5 separate regions of the Homo sapiens genome follow, and all the other regions are linked to region 4. The links are contacts of gene promoters, found by promoter capture Hi-C in blood cells and fetal thymus (Javierre and others, 2016). All regions are on one chromosome and are shown on one strand. Each heading gives the region's core, a stretch centred on a gene start or on the middle of the fragment in contact. The rest is flanking DNA. Distances are from core to core; before and after follow the strand shown.

Region 1 (2,700 bases), core at 1-2,500, 940 kb after region 4:
AAAAGACCACTCGTCATGTGTGACCTTAGCATGATGAGATGTCCTTCACTGAAACTGGAGTTTTTACAGGAGTTAAAAAAAAATTAAAAAGGCCAGGACAATCTTTCAAGCCTGGAAAGAAGACATACACATCCCAGATTTAAAAACCAGAGCAGAAAACACTGGAATTGAAGGAGCTTTAGTAAATTCACACACGCAATCACAACAGAATTCCAAGGGCCACAGCTGAGGATAACAATGATATTTACAGAATGCTTAGTGGGTGTCAGGCACCGACCTAAATGCCTTAAGCTTCAGAGCAACCCTCTGAGATTGACACTACTATCCCTGTACACTGTATCCCTCTTTTACAGATGAGGAAACTGAGGCACAGAGAGGTTAAGGCCAAGGCCAAGACAAAGTCTGCGGCTACACTAAAACTCAGACCTGAGTGGTTGATTCCAGAACTCAATTTTAATTACAATGTTATGCTTATTCAGATGAAGATACAGGTATTACAAACCAACATATGATAGAAGGGGAAAAAGCAACAAAATATCTATAGCATTTAAATTTCCCCTTTAACCCAATTATATAAAACAACAGCACACATAAGTGTTATTGAATATAGCCTGCAACGATAAGACATATACTTTTCTCTGGAGAATTTTAAAAAGGTAAACCGTTCTGTAAGTACTGTCAGATGGGCATTCAGTACACTTACTATTAATCTACCAAAGAAAGTATTTTCTTTTCTCTCCTTTCATCTTGTTTTTAAAAAGAGACAAGAACTCATTCTGTTGCCCAAGCTGCAGTGCAGTGGTAGAATCATAGCTCACCGGAGCCTCAAACTCCTGGACTCAAACAATCCTTCCGCCTCAGCCTCCTGGGAACTAGGACTACAGGTGCATGCCACCATGCCTAGTTAATTTTTTTTTTTTTTGGTAGAGAAAGGGTCTTGCTGTGTTGTCCTAGCCTGTCTTGAACTCCTGGCCTCAAGTGATCCTCCCACTTCGGCGTCCCAGTGTTGGGATTATAGGTATGAGACACTATGCCTACCCAGTACATATTTTCTTAAAGTTGTTATAAACTATGTATTTCCAAGGGAAATGTTTTTTAAAGGCTGAGTTTGGCAGTGGTATATGCTAATGTCTTCCTTGACCATTAATGCCACAAAATTAGTCCCTTCCCTGACATTCCACTTTATTTACAATTGTACCAAAAAGAATTGAGTTGGTTGCACGATAGAATTACCTTAAGGGAAGTGGGAGCATTCAGTTTACAAAGTATATTTTGTACTGTTTCTAAGGTTTCATATTATTTAAAATAAGACATTGAACATCACCTACAGAATTCTGAATTAACTTCTGCCACAGAATACCTGTAGGTAGAATGACTTCTTTGTTAGTGAATCAAACACCACCCTGGGAATGAATCATCAAGACCACAAGCAGAGCAAGAGTGGATGAGACTTTCAGTTAATCAGGATTTACATAAATCTCAGTAAGACAGATTCTATTCACATGAACAAGCCAGATATCTGCATTTCTTTGTAGGCTTTCCCTTAACCAGCAGATGGCTCTCAGAGGCAGGAATCTTCATATTTATCTTCCATACTACAACAGACTCTAGTGCCTGTCAAACCATGTCAATGTCTCTCCTATGATATTAATTAGGGAAAAAGCAGTGTTTAGATACATTTACTACCAAATCCCCAGCAGCTACATTCGGAGGTGGAGCAGATTCACAGGCATCAAGTTCCTCTCTCACTCCTGTCTGTAGCATTTCACAGAAAACTACTTTTGAACAGATTGAAATTGTAAGATTAGTAGTTGCCACCCTTTTCAGAAGCTGTGACTGAGACATTATATCATGTTCTAATTTGGATTCAATAAAAACGTTTTCACAAAATGTATAAATCAAGAGAAATACGTTTGCTAAAATGCGTCAAAAAGCTCAATCTTAACATCTATTCAAACTAGCGTTTGGCAAGTTTTCCATATGAACAGAATGCGTCTAAAATGCATATTTAATTATTGTTTTACTTTAATAAACAAAGTTTCCTACTAAACTAATTAAAAGATAATGGTTTACAAATGAGCCTTTTGGGCGCCCAAGGGGTGCCCTGGGGATGGATTCACAGTATTTCATGATTTTACTTAAATATAACAGCAGCCACTAAGTATTTTTCCACATCACTTTCTAGACCGTTAAAAAACTTAAAAGTATGACAAGCTTTCTGTTCTTTTTGTTTCAACATATTTCAGCAAGCAAGATCATAAGCTGTATTAGGCAAAATGTTTAAAGAGAATCAAAATAGAAAAAAACGAATCATTAACAGTCTGTTCTGGTTGGCTATATTATCAAACTTTTATGATGAAATTAGACTACAAGTTGAAAGAGGATTGTTGGCTAACAAAAAAATGCCTATTTCAGATATAGAGTATCTATTCAAAATAGCTACTCTGTGGGGAATGTCCTATGCATTGCGAAGACTTTATCCCATGAGATCAATTAATAATGTAGGATGAAACGAGGGTTCTGAAACAGGTATGGATTTCTGGATTATACTAGACATACCCACTGAATGGAAGACACATAACATACTTAAATATTTAGAGGGATTTTCCCACAGAATTTCTTCAGAAAATACCGGGGTTTAAATTATGTTTTATGCCAGAAGTGATAGCTTGGTGGATTACATAAACCTTAAAAAAAAAA
Region 2 (2,700 bases), core at 67-2,566, 980 kb after region 4:
CTAGCTCAACTCTGCTTTTCTTACTAATTCTAGGTCTTTGCTCAAAAGCTTTCTTCTTTGGGATGGATTTTCTGACAGCCTTGTTCCTTCCTTTATATTCCACCCCCTCCCAAGTATGAACTCTCAAATTAGTCTTAAATAAAGCTGCTAACTTCTCCTTCTAAACATTATATTATAAATATATCTCCTTAGAGCTTTACCCACATTGTATATTATGTGCTTGTGTGATATCGTATATGTGCCTGTGTATGTGACATCACACACACATACACATACACATCTGCCCTGCAAGACAGGTAGGCCCTTGAGGATAGAAACCATGTTTTATTTATCTTTCTAATCTAGTGCTTCTTACAGTGCCTGGGACTGTAAATAAATGTTGCTGAATAAATAAAAGTTGAATTTTCTCAAGGCCAGTAGTAAACATCACTTTTGTTTTCCATGGATTACTTCTCTGGAGATACAAGAGGTTTACACTTACTAAACAAATAACATGCTATGAATTATGCAGGAACATCATTACTTCAATACTTCAGAGAGGAAAAGTCAAGAAAAGAAACTCTGTTATTTACTCCATGTTTTACATTTAGCCATTGAGAACCAAGTTATGGAAACTGGATCTCATACCTGACAACTCTGTACTCTACCCATTAGCTTGTGGCGTGTGATAAGTCAAGAACAGACCTGATTTGTCCCTTTCCTTTCACATAATGATCATCATATTATTACTCCCTTAGCTTTTCAGGCCGGACAGGGGATAACATGCTTTAGCAATGGTAAGAGACGAGGAAGGATGCCCCGGCTCTGAGGCAAGGTGTAAGCAAACGCCTCTGTGCCCCATTTCCCCCTCTGTGAAAAAGAAAAGCACAATATTTAACAACATCGCCAAGCTATTGTGAGAATTAATTAGATTTCGTGGGGGAAGGGAGGTGAGATGATTAGGCATGATTCAAATTCAAAGTGTCATTATTTTGTGTCTAAAAATAATCTTGATTTAGGAATAAAATTAATTTGGAAGCTCAATCTTTGGTGATCATCTTCCCATACTTAAAAAAAGGCATAGTTTTAATCAAAATCTCATTCTAACTATAATTCAATGAAGTAAAAATGGAATTTCCATTCATCTTTGAAGTAATACAGCCACAGTTCATTTTTTTCTTTTTAGTTTTTCTTTTTTTTCCTTAATAACACATTATGTGTTAAAAGGTTAACTTTGTGGAATGGAGTAATATAAACAAATACAGATATTGAGCCCACTTTTTTTGTTGTTTCGCATGAAATATTTGTGAAACACTTTAAATCGCTTCTCTAAAGAATCGATAAGCTATGTTTTCTGGTTGAAATAACTTTTCAGGTTGTTTCTGCAAAATTCCATCTATATTTTTGTTCAAGAACTCATCAGTTAAAGAAGATCTTAGTACTCCCCAAATTAAAAAAAAAAAAAATCCTGGATATTTAAGGCTATGGCAAGGAAAAAAAAAATCACTGAGTTCGTTGTAATCCCCAAAACTAATGTAACAGATTCATTAACTGTGGAAATCTTCATGAGGAGTTGAAGTTGGTATCTGAGAAATATCTGGGTCTATGTACCTTCGAAAAAAAGGAAAACATTCTTTAAAATAGGTAAGAGTTTATAATCTTGGGAACTTAGATCATATCTGTCAAAAAAAAAAGTTACACTCAGGGTTTTTGGTGAATGAAGAGTTTGGGCTGGAAAGGAACTCTATCAATATTTATTTCGAACTGTCCAGAGGAAAGGAAGACCGCATAGTCCAGTTAGCAGGTATGTACTCTGTATAGAGAAGTAGGACTAATTCTCTTAATTTTAACATAAGCCCTATTAAAGTTTCCCGTAAGACCTACAAATACTCATATTAGACTGTATACTCACCAAGGAAACTTTTGATTATTCATTCGATTGCCCCGGACCCTTGATACTGGGGACGGATGTACCCTGTAGACAGAGAAGAATAATCCAGTCATTGAAAAAGCATATTCCCAATTGCAAATTTAAAAAAATGGCATGTTTTATAAATAATTTCTTTTAGAATTGCTTAATACAAAATCCCCAGAACTTGAACCCCTCTTAGTAAATGATGCAATTAAATTCCTACGCCTGCAAATCTGTGGTCCTTTTTTCCTTCTTAACCACTCTCAAGACAACAGGTCTGTCATAATGTTCACTCTGAAGACTCCCAGAGGCAGGACTGATGCATTCATTCAGTCCAACAAAAGTGACTGAATACCTAACCCTTGCCAGGTACAAGGGTGGGTAAAAGTTATCTAAGGTATGGTGCCTGAGTTCAGTGAGCCCTCTTTGTACCTGTTCCCATGAGGGTGGGCACAAAGAGGTGTCTAAGTGCCCTCTCCTTCACTCTACCACATTTAAAACTCTAGGAAGCAAACAACGTTATTCAAATGTGCTGTGACAGAATCTGCAGGCACAGGGAAGGAAGGAAGGGTGAACAGGTACTCCTAGGAGGAGTACATTCTGGAAGTGATGTGCTACACTGGACTTTGAAGAAAGTAAAGTCAATTCAAAATTTTAGCCAGATAAAGGAGAAGTGAAGAATATATTGCTTTCCAAGCTTCCAGGATTGGACTTATCCACTGGAAACAGCTTAAAGCTTCCGGGAACTGCTGTTATCTTCTAATCAAAGCCTAGCTAGTAAACCTCCGCCTCTTTGTGGGTCACTAACC
Region 3 (2,700 bases), core at 61-2,560, 960 kb after region 4:
GAGGGGTTTAACATTACTTCTCTCAGGATCAACTCTTCTTGTATAGAGAGTCTAAAATTCTGCTGTCTGATCAGTGCTATCTTATATAAAATAACTATTGATCTGAGATCCTGAAAGCACCGTAGAATATGGCTTTGCCTTAAGACTTACTATACAATTACATAACAAGTTGAATGTACTAGAAATTAAGGCAGGGTTGGGGGAGTACTAGAAAAAAACGTTCTCCCATTCATTAAAGTTACAAGGAAACTTCTTTCAAAATGGCTCCTAGAAAACCTCTGAAAAGATATAGCATGCATATTACATTATATGTGTGGGTTTATGTGTATTTATGTAGAGTTGGAAAAAGCTGATCCAAGAAGTAGATTTTAACTCCGCTTTGGTATCAGCATGCTTCAGAACTATTTCAGAATAATCACCTTATTTTTAAAAGTTCTGCTCATCAGTGAGAAGAACCAAAGTTGTGGTTTCTAAGAAAGTTACGCTTCCAGGAAAGAGAGAAAAATAAAATGACTAAGAAGTACATGGAGGGCTCTTATCATTTACTAATTCCTTGAGGCAGGATTCTATTTCAAGCAGTCCAGGTAGAAGAAACTAATGTATACCTTTAAAAAAGTTTTGAGAAGTACTTGCAAGAACTTTAGTGACCTCTCCTATTTATTTGGAAACTCTTCTTATGTAAGAAAAGTTCTACATCTACAAATATTTTTCCATACCTCAAACAGACCCAAATGCCAAGACCTATGGCATCTTTGAACTAAAGTTAAATACCGCTGTTAAGTCTGCTTTCAAATTCTCCATCTACAAATAAGAATTCAAGTCTGACTTTGGGTAGCATGGATTGGATTAGGAGATTCACTGCTAAATTTGGAATGTGAAGATCTAGATGTGCCAGGGCTGTTGCAAAGTGGCTTTGTTCCATAGGACAAATAACTGAATTTCTATTTTGGAACTTCAATTTCATCACTGACAAAATGGGGTCAATACTACCTATTGTGAATGTCGCAAGGGTTGGTTGTGAATTTCTCATGAGGGCATGGATGAAAGGGCGTTTTGAAAGGGTGAGTGTAGGTCTCCTGCAGGAGGGGTCTTTTCAAGATAGGCCTTTATAAACCCTTTAGGCACGCTGGTGGTAGGAGCAAAAAGCAGGTGACTGGGGCCTGTGTGATGGACATCCTGGAGCCTGGGTCAGCTACCCAGGGGGTGGTCTAGTAATGGGGGGTTGTGGGGGGTGGCAGCAACAGCAAATGAAGCCAGAAAAAGCAACACAGGAGGAACTGCTATAGAGCCCCAGGGCTTCAGGAGCAGGTAGGTAGACACTGAGGAGCAACGCAGGGAAGGAAAGCCTGCTGCCTAGGATGAGCATGACAAAACGATGCTCAGCACTTGCCAAACCTGCATCAGGACATGAAAAAATAAAACTGCAAGGTGACGTATGCATGTCTACGCATAGGTGAGCATACGCATGTCTCTACATTATTAGGGTTCATTAATTTCTGATGGTGGCTAGTTGAGTTTACCTTTGATGAAGGCTAGTGTGTCAGAAAAGAACTCAACATTCATGCATCCTGGTGTTAAATTCTGAGGCCATGGTTGCACTTTCTAGTTCTACAGAGCCTTCTAGTGTTAGCCAGCTGCACTCTTTAGACCAAGGCCTGCTAATGTAATCAGTCACTTTTATGAGTACCTAAAATTATAGCTGCTAGGTACCCATTAAAATAACTTATTTATTCATTTATTGTTTATAAGAATTTGTGGTTAATGCATCCGTATTCATTGTTTAAGCCGTGGTTCATTACCACACATAACTGCAGGATGGGGTTCTGTTTTGCACATGTGCTCTTTGACCACCTGGGGACATAAGAGAACACATATTACAAATGCACATACATTTAAAGCATATGTTTTAGGTAGGAAAGAGGGGACGCTACTCTTATCCAATTGCAACTAAAATCATGACGTTGTGAAAGAGCTCACTATGAATGGAGTTGTGTCAGTAGCTCAGAAGTAGGCTCTGGTTTTCCTCCTCCAGTGTATTAAATCATTTGACATTTAGGTCACCTAGGATGAGGACTGAAGGGCATGCTCTAACCAGTACAATTGTAACCATACATATTTATAAATATTAAAGGTAATTATTATCCTTAAAATATATCTAACAAATGTCAACCCAGATTGTGACAAGGACTGAATTTATATTTTGTAAAAGTATCACATGTGATAATTACTGTTTTTCACACACCAGGTCAAAATACTAAGTGTAAAAAGAAAAAGAAAATGCTCCTTTGTTAACACTTGTCATTGTTCTGCACGTATGTAATTTCTAGAATCAGAGGCCTCCAAATCTATTAATAATCACAAATTTGCAAAAGCTATGCATTATTTCAGATAACACCAAGCAAAAATAGCACCAAGATTCTAATTTCACTTAATGATATTTTCAAGATACCCACCAGTTTGAAAGCATGCAAGTCAAGGGTATACCACTAAATAACTGAATCAGTAACTGTGGAAAAAGTTAAATGACGTATCATTTTTACATTTCAAGGATCGTAATGTCCTGCAAAATACGTAGTACACACCATCTGCATCGGGCAAAACGCTGTCAGATGCTTTCAAAATAGGTCTCTGGACCCAGAGAGAAATCAGCATTCTAATGACATTTCACAACGGTGTGGCACCTGGCTGGTAAAGATCTAC
Region 4 (2,700 bases), core at 171-2,670:
TTTATTACCCTCTGTTAGTTGTTCACATAATATGGTATTCCAGGAACTTAAGCAAATCTCATCTTCCAAGATTCTATGGTCCAACTCATGCTAAAACCAATTCAAAATGAAAACATTTTGGAAATTAAAGTACCTATTGTAGTCTAGGAGTCAGCAGACCTTGGTTTTAGGCTTGAGCCCATCAATGCCTGTGTGACCTTAGAGAGATCCACTTAGCATTATCTTCTGCACAGCCATGTAAGAATTAAATAAGGTATGAAATCTATCACTTATCTTCTGACAATGTCATAAATTACTCACAGGAACCCTCTCCCGAATTTTGCTAATCCTGTGGTTTTCTGATATTTAACGTAATATTCCTCCTACCTATGGTGCTCATTAGTGAAAGTATAGAAATGCTTCTCTTGGTTATTAGTCACATCTCGGATGCGTTTATATACGGGGGCACTGCGATTTCTCACTTCTTGAAGAACTGTTTGTAGCACAATTACATTCCTGATGGCAGGGTCCTCAAGAACATCAATCTTAAAGAAAGATAAAGTTAATTTTTCCTATATTCATTTGTAAATAGCTCTGTCAAACATAAAATCCTGTTTTATGTTGGGCATAAATACTTTATGTTTTAAAAACACTGAATAAGTTAAGCCAAGAAGCTATTTGGCTATAGAAAACGAGACAATAGTCACTAAACCCTTCAGATCTATTAAAAAAAGCACACTTAAACAGACCAATCACAAGACTTCGTAGAATTAAGGGTATTAATAAAGGAATACGTTGGCCCACATAGTTTTTTGTTCCTAGGCACTTACAAGCTGCCTGGGAGTCGCAGGCTGGAGGCCACAGAAGCCCAGGTCCCCGGCCTCCAGGCACTTACAATCTAAGGCAGAAGAGACACCAGGAGTTAGAAAAATAACGTGTCTGAACTACGACTCCAAGAACTAAATTTTTTAAAGCACAAGGAAAAGAACCTCGGCCTGGGGAACAGGAAGCTTCGGTCCCGAGGGGGTTTCCCTTTCGCTAGGTATGTGACACTGCCAAAGACCCGCCTCCCTGGGCCTCAGTTTCCCTGTCATACCCCCTTGTCCCCGTGGGGCCGCGCTGTCCGCGGTTCGCCCGCCCACGCACCTGGTGCAGTAACACATTAGTGTCGGGCAGCAAGTAGTGCGGTTGCGGGCAGACGCTGCTCGCCGGGTCCTGGGGCTGCGGCTCCAGGGCCGGCCCCTCGTGCGCCCCTCCACACGCTGCGCACCCGGGCGCACCGCAGCCGATGTCGTCTCGCAGGTAGTGCTCGCGCACGATCTTCATCACGCCGCCCGCCCGGGTCTTTTTTAAGAACGTCTTGGACTTGAGCATCTTGCCTCGCCGCGCAGAATCCTAACCCCAGCAGCGCTCTTCCAGCAAAAGGCGTCAATCTAGAATACGCCTAACCCCGGAGGTTCTTCCCTTTCCATTCCCGGATATTAGTAACACTTCTCGCGGGAAAATGCCGAGATAAACATTGGTTGGCTCTCTGACGGCCGCGGGGATTGGGCGAGAGTGGGGAGGGGCGGCAAAGCAAGGCGAGGAGCCATTTCCGCCCGTGGCCTAGGCGGGGCTTCCTTCTGGACGCCACCTCACAACGTGTGTTGCTTTCCGCTCCTCGGAACATCCGGGAGAGTTGACTTCCGGCGGCTTGTGGGAGTGCTGGTTCTGTCCTCCTTGCGGGTGCGGAGATGGTTGTCTTGGTTACGGGTCCTAACGGTCCCCTGCCTTGAAATCCCTTGTTGAGGGCCTGCAACCTTGTGCTTCCGACCGGAGACGCCTTTGGTCCCTCGGTGTCTGCACTGGCTGCTGGTCAAGGCTTCAGTGTGGAGTAATTGACACTTTCGAGGTAACTTGCGACTATCATCGCTTTCTTTCCCGCGTGGGGCAAGGAATCCCCCGAGCTGCCAAGTTTGGGGCTTAATTTTCACGCCGAGTGTATAGGCAGTCCCCGTCTCGGGCCCTTTGTAATCGAGGAGAGAATTTGTCTTTGAATTCACTTTTTCTTACCTATTTCCCTTCAAAAAGAAGGAGGGAGGCCGATCTTAGTATAGTTCTCGCTGTTTCCCCTCCACACACCTTTCCTTATCATTCAGTTTAGAAAAACTGAAATATTTAATAGCATAATTTGTTATATCATGAGGTATTAAAACAAGGTAGTTGCTAACATTCTTATGAGAGAGTTAGAAGTAAGTTCTATTTAGAATTTCTTGAATTTTTCTTATATCCTGTTGTTTTCATTCTGCTATCTATAAAAAATGTTTTTGTCCCCGTTTTCCCTATTTAAAACATCTTCAATGATGCCTCATTGCCTGTAGAATAAAATCCAACCCTATTTTGACATTTAAGGCCTTCCAGTCTTGATCGTTAAGGGCGTGTGTGTGTGTGTGTGTGTGTGTGTGTGTGTTTGTGTTTGTGTTGGGGGGGCGGTGAAAGGAGTAACTATTCCAAGACTTGGCTTTGTTTTTTTACTTCCACTTACGTATCATTAATAACTGCATGATTTCTCCTTTTTACCATGCCTGTCCAAATCTTTAAAGATTCTAAGTGCTACCTCTGTGTAACGTTTCCCTGACCAACTCAGACGTGATTTCTGTTATCTTTGAGCATGTGTTGGTTTTAGTGGTGCCATTCTTGATTATAATGGGCTTTTTTCTTCATCTTGTACATTTCTTTGTT
Region 5 (2,700 bases), core at 183-2,682, 900 kb after region 4:
GAAGAAGACAAGACTATGAGGTCAGGAAGATGGACAGTAGCCTCAGTAACCATGGACAGATGGAGATATTAGCCAGGGTTCTCCAGAGAAATTAAACCAACAGAGTATATGTTTACACTTACATACCGAGAGATTATTGGCTCCATGTGGCTGTGGAAGCTTGTCAAGTCCAAAATCGGATGGGGTAGGCTGACAGGCTGGAGACTCAGGGAAGAGTTGCAAGTTCAAGTCCAAGGGCAGTCTGCTGACAGAATTCCTTGTTGCCCAAGGGAGGTCAGTCTTTGTTCTGATAAGGCCTTCACCTGATTGGATGAGGCCCACCCACATTATGGGGGGTCATCTGCTTTATTCAAAGTTCACCTATTTAAATGTTAATCTCATTCAAAAAACACCTTTACAGAAACATCCAGAATAATGTCCAACCAAATATCTTGGCACTGTGGCCCAGTCAATATGACACATACAATTAACCATTTCAATAGAGGTTCTGCTCAATGTGAGATGGAGCACACCTGGACTTGCCTTGGGAGCAGGTGGGCAGGAGGAGAGGAGAGAGACCACCCCACCGGAGGCTTTCAAAGTTTATTTTTTACATTGCGCCCTGTCACATGCATGCTAACGGACAATGAACTGAAACAAAAGCTCTTCTTCATCTTCGCTTCCTTCCTGCTTCATTCCATTCTATTTCATCCCATCTTATACCATCTCATTCCTTTCTTTAATTTTTGAAAATGCTCACTTTCATCCACTACATGGATTTCATTGCCATGAATGGGTCACAAAACTGCAGTTTGCAAACTGAATATACAACTTACATGTGTGTTGGCACATGTGCAAATCAAAGAAGAGGCTGACAGGATGGACAACAGAGATAGCACACGTCACAACTTGAAATGATCCATAAACCAAGAGAATGAGGTGATTGTGATCAGGCAGACACCTCTGCCTCTCTTTCTCCAGTGTTGCACACACACTCAAAATTCACAGAAATCTTCCAGAGGGCATGTTATTAGGGATCTGAATATCTACATACAATGTGTATTTCAGGGGACACAGGGGCTGACTGATTACCTGTGTTACTGAGCTATTCTCTCTACCCTTAAAATTCCATCACGTTTTAGCCAGTTCTGGTGGTGCTTATCCATTTACAGTTCATACTAGAGAAATTGTGTATGTATCTATCTACGCTAATCGGATACAATAACTTACTTTAGGTGAGGGACTATGTCTTAAGTACAAAGCTTTATGCCACACATCAATTAGCATAATCTTTTTACAGAGTAATAAGTCAAACATGTGCTTTTCCTTATTTTATGCACATAAAAATTGCTATCAGTAACCATAAGAACATAGATTTACGAGTGGTTGAATAGAATATAGACTTTATGTAATTTCTTAACCATTTCCTCCATGTTTTAGATATATCAAATATAATTTGAATGCTCACTTGGATAATGCATAATATTGATACATATAATACAAAAGGGTCAATATCAGTGCTCAAATGACTGTATTCATTTATGCTGAACAAATTACAAAGAAATGGCTCCAAATCAGCCAGGAAAGGTGAAGTAGTGTACACAGGCCCTAATTCAGCAACAGAATGCATTGGCCACACTGACATAAGCTTTCAGGACCCTGGGGATGATCAATAACGTTTAACCCTCCAGGGCCACGTCTACCTCATGACCTGGCCATGGCCAAGTTTAAGAGGGCATAGCAGCCAGAGGCAGCGGCAAGGCCACCCTTGAGATGTTGGAACCAACTTGGGTCTTTGGTATAGACTGAAAGCTCTGAGGGACCAGGGTATAACAGTAGCTCATGACACAGACCTTCTGTGCTTTGCAATCCTCTTCAAGATAATGGATTACAATCTGTGCAATACAATACTTACTGCAGCTACAATAAGAGAAAAGGGGGCTATTCTGATGACTATATGCCTATTTAAACAATTCTGGGGCTCTCCTGAGTAAATGTTTTTTAGCACATATTGCTGATGTCATCATGGCCTCATAAAACTGGGTTTCTCTCTCATACACATACACACACACAAGCACACTCTTAACATGGTGAAACTATAAAAGAAAAAAGATCATGTAAAAGTTGTTCCTGTACAAGGAAAATGTAATTTATTTCAGAAATAGACAATCACTCAAGTGTATGAGCTGTGTAGGCGTTCATTGGTGAATTTAGACTAAACAGGAAGTGATGTAAATTATAGTTATTACACTGCTGGGAGAGAAATATATTAAATCCAGACAGCACACGAACAAAGCACAAGGAGCTCATTGTGTTGAAGGAAACCACGCACTTTGGTGGGAAGACAATGCACTATATAGTATGAAAACCCTCCATGGCCATTGGGACTAAAATAATTTTTTAGGGAGCATGATTTTGTTCTAGCACTGAAATATTTTTTTCTTTTCTGATAAAGCCCCAAGGCATTCTAAGCTGAAGTACATTGCTGCTCCTGTACTTTTAACTATTTCGTGTGGTTTTTTTGTAGACTTCAAATTGGGGAGAATAAGAAACAATGAAACCATTAGGTTAGAAATCATGGCTATGGCAAAACGGCTAGAGTAAAGGTAAAACATGAGATAATGAATTATCTATCACCTGTGTAATTCCAGCTATCATTGAAGTATCCAAGAATCACCCTGGTAGAGGAAATATCAACGAATAAATTACCCTGAGGGAAAA

Evidence for each region. The method cuts DNA at HindIII sites, captures the fragments that hold promoters and counts their contacts. A CHiCAGO score of 5 or more calls a contact.
Region 1: a contact is called between a fragment that was not itself captured here and the fragment with the promoter of DIS3 in region 4, in 4 of 17 cell types (fetal thymus, naive CD4 T cells, total CD8 T cells and 1 more). The highest score is 9.3, in fetal thymus.
Region 2: a fragment that was not itself captured here is called in contact with the fragment with the promoter of DIS3 in region 4 in 3 of 17 cell types (total CD8 T cells, total B cells and activated CD4 T cells); the score reaches 6.3 in total CD8 T cells.
Region 3: a fragment that was not itself captured here is called in contact with the fragment with the promoter of DIS3 in region 4 in 1 of 17 cell types (total CD4 T cells); the score reaches 5.4 in total CD4 T cells.
Region 5: a contact is called between a fragment that was not itself captured here and the fragment with the promoter of DIS3 in region 4, in 1 of 17 cell types (endothelial precursors). The highest score is 5.4, in endothelial precursors.

The regions. Positions count from the first base shown.
Region 1 is chr13:73,720,811-73,723,510 of GRCh38, forward strand. The region is part of intron 6 of KLF12 (KLF transcription factor 12); the gene reads right to left. Among named protein-coding and RNA genes, the nearest start is that of LINC00393, 60 kb to the left of the region's middle. The HindIII fragment of the contact is 1,923 bases long and covers 290-2,212 here.
Region 2 is chr13:73,763,047-73,765,746 of GRCh38, forward strand. It overlaps KLF12 (KLF transcription factor 12), which reads right to left. Exons shown (of 8, transcript NM_001400136.1): 6 at 1,892-1,954. Among named protein-coding and RNA genes, the nearest start is that of LINC00393, 100 kb to the left of the region's middle. The HindIII fragment of the contact is 2,540 bases long and covers 47-2,586 here.
Region 3 is chr13:73,743,356-73,746,055 of GRCh38, forward strand. The region is part of intron 6 of KLF12 (KLF transcription factor 12); the gene reads right to left. Among named protein-coding and RNA genes, the nearest start is that of LINC00393, 83 kb to the left of the region's middle. The HindIII fragment of the contact is 6,584 bases long and covers 1-2,700 here.
Region 4 is chr13:72,780,480-72,783,179 of GRCh38, forward strand. It overlaps DIS3 (DIS3 exosome endoribonuclease and 3''-5'' exoribonuclease), which reads right to left and starts at 1,421. Exons shown (of 21, transcript NM_014953.5): 1 at 1,126-1,421; 2 at 367-524. The coding sequence starts at 1,353. It overlaps PIBF1 (progesterone immunomodulatory binding factor 1), which reads left to right and starts at 1,654. Exons shown (of 18, transcript NM_006346.4): 1 at 1,654-1,870. RefSeq lists enhancers at 613-1,527, 1,445-1,554 and a silencer at 1,115-1,164. The HindIII fragment of the contact is 4,441 bases long and covers 988-2,700 here.
Region 5 is chr13:73,681,685-73,684,384 of GRCh38, forward strand. No RefSeq gene overlaps it. Among named protein-coding and RNA genes, the nearest start is that of LINC00393, 21 kb to the left of the region's middle. The HindIII fragment of the contact is 386 bases long and covers 1,240-1,625 here.